2 separate regions of the Homo sapiens genome follow, and region 2 is linked to region 1. The links are contacts of gene promoters, found by promoter capture Hi-C in human tissues and cell types (Jung and others, 2019). All regions are on one chromosome and are shown on one strand. The core of a region is centred on a gene start or on the middle of the fragment in contact, and the rest is flanking DNA. Distances in the headings are between cores, read along the strand shown.

The links. Contacts are between HindIII fragments. The study calls those that stand out against the background at their distance.
Region 2: a fragment that was not itself captured here is called in contact with the fragment with the promoter of ENOSF1 in region 1 in 2 of the 25 tissues and cell types used here (dorsolateral prefrontal cortex and lymphoblastoid cells).

Annotation. Positions count from the first base shown.
Region 1 is chr18:710,610-714,310 of GRCh38, reverse strand. ENOSF1 (enolase superfamily member 1) reads left to right here and starts at 1,681. Exons shown (of 16, transcript NM_017512.7): 1 at 1,681-1,807. The coding sequence starts at 1,724. RefSeq lists an enhancer at 906-1,485 and a silencer at 1,437-1,756. The HindIII fragment of the contact is 7,627 bases long and covers 1-3,701 here.
Region 2 is chr18:199,905-203,605 of GRCh38, reverse strand. USP14 (ubiquitin specific peptidase 14) reads right to left here. Exons shown (of 16, transcript NM_005151.4): 11 at 661-726; 12 at 416-508. Among named protein-coding and RNA genes, the nearest start is that of USP14, 43 kb to the right of the region's middle. The HindIII fragment of the contact is 5,497 bases long and covers 1-3,701 here.

The sequences.
Region 1 (3,701 bases), core at 432-2,931:
GTCAGTTTGTGGCTGTTTCTATCTTCTGAAATAGATTATAGAGAATTGTTGTAATTTCTTCCTTAAATGTTTGGTGTAAAATTCACCAGTGAAACCATGGACCTGGTGCTTTTTGTTTTTGGAAGGCTATTATTTATTCAAGTTATTTAATAGATATAGGCCTATTCAGATTGTCCATTTCTTCTCGTGTGAGTTTTGGCAGATTGTGTCTTTCAAGGAATTGGTTTATTTCATCCAGGTTATCAAATTTGTGGACATAGAATTCATAGTATTCCTTTATTATCATTTTAATGTCCGTCGGATCTGTAGTAATGTTCCTTATTTCACTTTTGATATTAGTTATTTGCGTTCTCTTTTCTTGCCTGGTTAGAGGCTTATTGATTTTATCAATGTTTTCAAAGAACCAGCTTTTGTTTTCATTGATTTTTCTTTGTTGCTTTCCTGTTTTCAATTTCACAGGTTTCTGCTTTAATTTTTATTATTTCTTCTCTTCTGCTTACTTTGGATTTTCTTTTTATTTCTTTTTATTTATTTATTTTTGAGACACAGTCTCACTCTGTCGCCCAGGCTGGAGTGCAGTGGTGCGATCTCGGCTCACTGCAACCTCCGCCTCCTGGGTTGAAGCGATTCTCCTGCCTCAGCCTCCCGAGTAGCTGGGACTGCAGGCGCCCGCCACCACGCCCGGCTAATTTTTTGTATTTTTAGTAGAGACGGGGTTTCACCGTGTTAGCCAGGATGGTCTCGATCTCCTGACTCGCCATCTGCCCGCCTTGGCCTCCCAAACTGCTGGGATTACAGGCGTGAGCCGCCCAGCATCTTTTTTTTTTTTTTTTTTTTTTTGAGTCGGAGTCTTGCTCTGTCGCCCGGGCTGCAGTGCAGTGGCGCGATCTCAGTTCACTGCAAGCTCCACCTCCCGGGTTCAGGCAGTTCTGCCTCAGCCTCCCGAGTAGCCGGGACTACGGGCGCGCACCACCACGCCCTGCTAATTTTTGTTTTTAGTAGAGGCGGGATTTCGCCGTATTGGCCAGGCTGATTTCAAACGCCTGACCTCAGGTGATCCGCCCGCCTCGGCCTCCCGAAGTGCTGGGATTACAGGCTGAGGCACGGTACGGGGACCTCATCTGCATCAGTACGGGTGTAATCAATGATGACCTGCCTCTTAATTTATCAGGTGGCAAACTGAGGCTGTGGGCACTGAAAGAGACCTAGCATTTTCTAGGGCACCGCTCTCCTGGGTACGCTGGCGACAACCAGCGGCCTCGGCTTGGGAGCTGAGCCACTGGCCGGAATCTGCCGCTGAGCGAATGCACTCGCTCAGACCCGACTTCTCCCTCTAGGGCGCGGCTCCCGGGCAGGTCCCTTCACGAGTCTTCCATCCGAGCAGAGCAGGGTCCCGCGGAGGCGCCGACCGGGCGCGAGGCCTCCTGCCTGCCCAGGTTCCCCGGCGACCCTGAGCGAACCCTCTCGGGGTCAGCTCCGTCTAGGCTGAGAAGGGAACGGCGGAAGGCGGAGTGCGCCCCCGGGAGCCCGGAGCTGGGACTGCAGCTCCCATGGGGCCAAGTTCACGGGGTGCGGCCGCGCGGCCAATGAGCGCCCTCTATGCCCTGACGGTGCCCCGCCTCGCGGCGCTGCCGCGCTCCCGCCCTCCCGCCCTCCCGCCGCGCGCTCGGGATCCCGACCAGTCCTGACCGCACGGGGGCCGCGGCCACGGGGCGCAGGGGCCATGGTGCGCGGCAGGATCTCCCGGCTCTCGGTCCGGGACGTGCGCTTCCCCACGTCGCTTGGGGGCCACGGCGCGGACGCCATGGTAAGCGCGGACGCCATGGTAAGCGCGGACGCCATGGTAAGCGCGGACGCCATGGTAAGCGCGGACGCCATGGTAAGCGCGGACGCCATGGTAAGCGCGGACGCCATGGTAAGCGCGGACGCCATGGTAAGCGCGGACGCCATGGTACGCGCGGCTTGCGGCCCGGGTCCCTCCCGCCCCGCCGACTGCAGCTCTGCGGGCCCCGGGCAGCTTCCCGACTTCGAACCCATTGCTTCTGTAAAGTGGGAGGCGCGCCTGGGGGAGACACTCGCTTTTCATGCCTTGGAGCAATTGTATAAGTATCCAGAAACTTTCCACTCTCCTGGGTTTTTTCTTTGCTGGAGTTTAGAATATCCTGGTTTTACTTTTACGACTCACATTTTGCTGGAAATGGTAGAATGCATAATAGGCAATAGCAGCAAAATGATTTTGTTGGGTTCCCGCCAGTGGAAACCCTAGAGCACAGCGCTCGCTGGCTTCCTCTGTACCCTGAACGCGACGGGGTTGGCGCTGAGGGAGAACGGGAAGCCCGGGGCTGGGAGTTTTGAGTGGTGATCCCGCTTCCACAACTTGCTGTGTGACTTGGAGAAGTTCCAGACCTCTCTGGGTCTCTTGGACCCGTCTGTGTAATGAAGGTGTCACAGTCGGGTTGAGAAACCAAGCGCGTGCTAACTGCGTCACATGAGAGGGCGCTCTCGTGAAATTACCCGCAAACACGCTTAGAAAGGACTGATGCAAATGTCAGTTCGTCTTAAGAGATGTAATAAAGTAAGGGCAGGAACTCTGACTCCTACCTAAATATTGAAGGTCTTTTTTGCTTACTGAGGGTGTTAGAATGTCAGGCCTTCCCTCCCCTGCCCCCGTCTAGAGCGGTGTTTCCCAAATACAGTGGGTTCTGTGCAGGGTTTTCAGGGAGCCTGTTCCCCACTGGGTCCTCACTGCCCCTCGTAGTCCACTGATGAGATTGGCCGCGCTAGAAAAGCAGAGTTGTATGGGTATGTAGTGAATGTGTGAAAGTATGCTGGGAAGTGAGGAACGGCAATGTTAGGAAAATGGTTACCAGTAGGGAGGGAAGGAAATGGGGTCACGGAGGGGACCACGAGGTCTCTAATTCCCATTGTAATGTTTTACTTCCTAAATTGGGTGGATGGCAAGCTGGTGTCCATTACATTATCTATACTCTTTTTGTACCTGAAATGTTTTATAAAAATAGATCTCTCGTTAAAGTTATTAAATGCAAAACAATGTCCTTTTTGAGATTAAGTTCATCCTGCATTTTTAAATTTTTATTTTATTCTATTTTATGTTTTAAATTTATTTATTTATTTATTTTGAGGCAGGGTCTCTTATCTGTTGCCCAAGCTGGAGTGCAGTGGTACTATCATGGCTCACAGCAGCCTTGACCTCCCTGACTCAACCAATCCTCCCACCTCAGCCTCCCAAGTAGCTGGGACTACAGGTGTGCACCATGATGCCCAGCTACTTTCTGTATTTTTTGTAGAGACAGGGCCCAGGCTGTCATCCTCTTTAAAATCTTCATGTTTCCTTTCTTACATGATGTTGGTAAATAACTTAAACACCCAGCAGGCAATCCTTTATGGAACTCAAAATAAATGTTGGAAATTTTACTGGCTTATAGAATCCAAACACTCGATCTCATGCAACTGCCTTTGCCTCTGTGAAGCTTTAGCAGCTGTGGCTAAGTCACACAATCTTTCTAAGCCTAGGTTTCTCATCTGTAAAATGGGTATAATAATATTCACTTTATACATGTAAATGAGATACCTGTAAAGAGCCTGGCTCAGAGAAGGCCGTCAGTAAAGTTGGCTATAGGCCAGGCATGAGGGCTCACACCTCTAATCCTAAGTGGAGGCCTAGGCAGGGGGATCACTTG
Region 2 (3,701 bases), core at 840-3,339, 510 kb after region 1:
CCTAGAGTATAGTGCAGAGTTATCACTCCCTACCTCACACCCATCTCCAAGCCTACTGAATCAGTATCCCTGAAGCTGAGGACGTGGTCTAGGGCACTATTTCTGGGTAGTGCAGGAGAGCCATCAGAATTGTATATGAATCTTTTGAAAAATATAATATCCTAGGCCCCACCGAAGACCTACCCAGATGTTTGGGGGTGAGGGAGAAGCCAGGTGTGTGTACAGTTAAAAATAAAAAAGACAATAGATAATTCTAATATACGTTCTGAGTTAAGAATCACTTGTCTAATATTAGCTCCCCTAAATATTTCAAAGAAAGCTTAACTATTCCTAAAGGAATAATGAAAGCAATTGTGAGTTAGCAATTACCTTCAAAGAATTACATTTCTTATACAAAGTAAAGTTCATTACTAACCTTAAGAACTTTGGCATTCACAGATTCCTTCTCTTTATAAAAAAATCGAACCATCTGAATGGTCAAGTAAGCAGGCAGCCGGCTGATCTTGGACTGAGGAGACAAAATGTAAAGAAATCCCATTACATCAAAATACCATACAAGTTTTAATTATTTGGTGGTAAAAATTAAGACTGGATAAAATTAATTAACTGGAAATATTTCAGTGAAGCGGAATTTGGCTTCGAAAGGACTGCATAACTTACAGATTTGATATACAAGGCATTTCTTTGCAACGTTGGAGACTGTTTGGTGATTTCTTCCTGAAGTCGCTAAGAAAGAACATAACAGAAGACCAAACATTAGTTTTAAAAATTTTATTTCTGCAATATAGAATCACACCAGTAAGCCTTTTAAAAACTAGCACTACCTAAGAGGCAATATACAGTACATCAATGGGTTTATACCACTGAGACACAATTTGATGACAATATGGGAAGACTTTTAGATACTGTTCAATTCTTACAAGGCATCAAATAATTTACGTTGTTGTGGATTCCTCCGAGTGTAAATACTGTTTGCTCTTTTTTAGCTATGCCCCAAATGATGCTTAGATTCAGAGAATTTTATATTGTATTTTATATAACAAAGCTGTCATTCCTGTTTATTATCAGAATATTCACTCTAGAGGAAAATTAAGAGAGCCCAAGAAACTCCTGTTCTTTACGTTTTATGCATAAAAGCCAATCAGCACCAATGAATTATTGTTAAATTTGAAAAAAGTCATAACACAGAAACCTCTGTTAACCTAACAGATGTGGGAAAGCCTTTAGCTGCTGCACATATCTTAACCAGCATGATCACCTTTCTGCTTCTTACAGCCCGTGTAACAGTGGAAACGGTATTTATCCCTCTGGGCATCATTTGGAAAAGGTGGTAGTGGTAATCAATGTTATAGTGTTATTGTTAGAATTACAGTCAGTACATGTAGAAAACCTGGTAAAATATTTGGCATATACTCTACATTTAACAAACATTCACTACTATTTCTAATGTCACAGAAAGAATTAGCACTACTTATGTGCTCTGCTTTAAGAAAACAAACAAAAAAGAAATTAGAATTAAAATAACCTACTGGTAATGTTTAAGCATGTTACACTTGTATAATTTTAAAGTCTGATTTTTTAAAATTACTAATCATATTACAAAAGGAATCACTGTGGAGTAGCTTTTTAACATTTAACCAAGTTTATTCAGCAGCAAAGCAGTGGAGAAACGAAGCCAAATTACTCAAGAATTATCAGAACAAAAGATAAAATATCTTAAAAGTTATAAAGGAAATAAATACATTCTAGGAATACAGGTTTTTCAAGAAAGTATATCTGGTGAAATCTTATTATTACCACCAATCCACTATCATCTAGACCTTCTGGGTATGTTCGGTTTTCCTATACTTTTACAAAATTGTGAAGAAAATACCATCCTGGAGAGTCCCTGCCAAAGCACTCCACTCCACACTCTCCAGTTAACACTGAGACTTCATTTGCTGGTATATCCTGAAACTTGCACACCATGCCTTACATGATTTGGCTCCTGGGGGTTAAGAAGTTTTGTGTGTTTTTAAATGAATTTCTCTTAAAAGTCACCATGTTCATATCCACACTGGCTCAAAACTCTCCCCTCGGTATCATAAGACAGAGCGTGACTCACTCACTCTTCTTCTTATGCCCTTTAACAACCCTTCCCCTTGCCAACCTTATCCCAAACTATAGATGAGAGCCCCCAGATAACAAATCATCTTGTTTATCAACATAATCCATGTCCCACTTCAGTGTTTATCAACCCACCTCCTCTGCCCAAACTAGGCCTCTGCACAGAGGACCTATTCCAATGTCTCATCATTTTTCACTGACTTTTCTTCCTTCAAGACTTCTCTTTATTGGTCATGGTTAGAGGAGACAGCAAAGAGGATCAACCAGGATTTTTAAAAATTCTGCCCTCCAGGCCCTTCTTCAAATATCTAGATGTTGCAATGGCTAACTTTTATTCATGCATTTATTTTTCATACAACTGTGTTTAGGAAGAAGCTAACTTTTAAAATAAATAATCCTGGCTGGGCACGGTGGCTCATTCCTATAATCCCAGCACTTTGGGAGGCCGAGGTGGGCGGATCACAAGGTCAGGAGATTGAGACCATCCAGGCTAACATGACAAAACCCTGTCTCTATCAAAAATACCAAAAATCAGCCAGGTGTGGTGGCACGCACCTGTAGTCCCAGCTACTCAGGAGGCTAAGGCAGGAGAATCTCTTGAACCTGGGAGTCAGAGGTTGCAGTGAGCCGAGATTGTGCCACTGCACTCCAGCTTGGGTGACAGAGAGAGACTCCGTCTCAAAATAAGTAAATAAATAAATAAAATAAAATAAAATAAACAATCCTAATTATCAGTGCTTTTGAAGTGGAATCACATGAACTATAATTTGAAAACTATTAAAAGGTATCAGTTCAAATGGGGAGATCCTTCGAGAGATATACATATCCCCAAAGCACACCAAATTAGTAAGTCAGCAAGCAAAACCGTATGTTTTATCCATGGGCTTATTAGCAGAGTGGAAGCTGACATTTTATGTGAGTCCGTATTCTTTAGTATGGCACTGGAAAAGCAGCACTAACTGAATAATGAAAGAAGCAAGTTCTAGTTCTGGCTCTGCCAAAAGCCAATTAGGTTACTTTAAATTCCAGGGCCTCAACTGCAAGACAGTGCAATGGCAGAACGACTACATGCCCTGATTTGCACAGAAAAATCCCAGTTTATATTGCATAATTACTAACATACCCTCATTCACTCTCCACCAAAGTGTCCTGGTTTAGACAATACATTATATGATCACCCTTAATGGTTAAGAGCACAAACCCACAAACAACCCTATAGTTACTCTCATTTTCACGTAAGAAAACAGTAGCTTAGATTAAGTAATTTTCCTTAAAGTTAACAGTTCAGCTAAGTTATAGGGCCCATGAAAACAACTATCTCTAAGGAAAAATCTTAACAAACATGTAAACTATTCAACAAACATTTCTTGAGTGCTTTAAAATAAAGCAAGGTACAGCACAAAGCACTAGGTGCTTCTTCACAGTGTGAAGCAGGAACACCCAGTGATTAAAAAGTGAGATGTCCCAATATTTGTTAGCATATGCAACCATGTCAATAATGCTTTTGTCTATGAAATGAAGAGCTAGTTGAAGTTTGTTTGATTTCTGACTATACAGTTGATTTTGTTAGTCACGGTAATTATGTTCTACAAAGT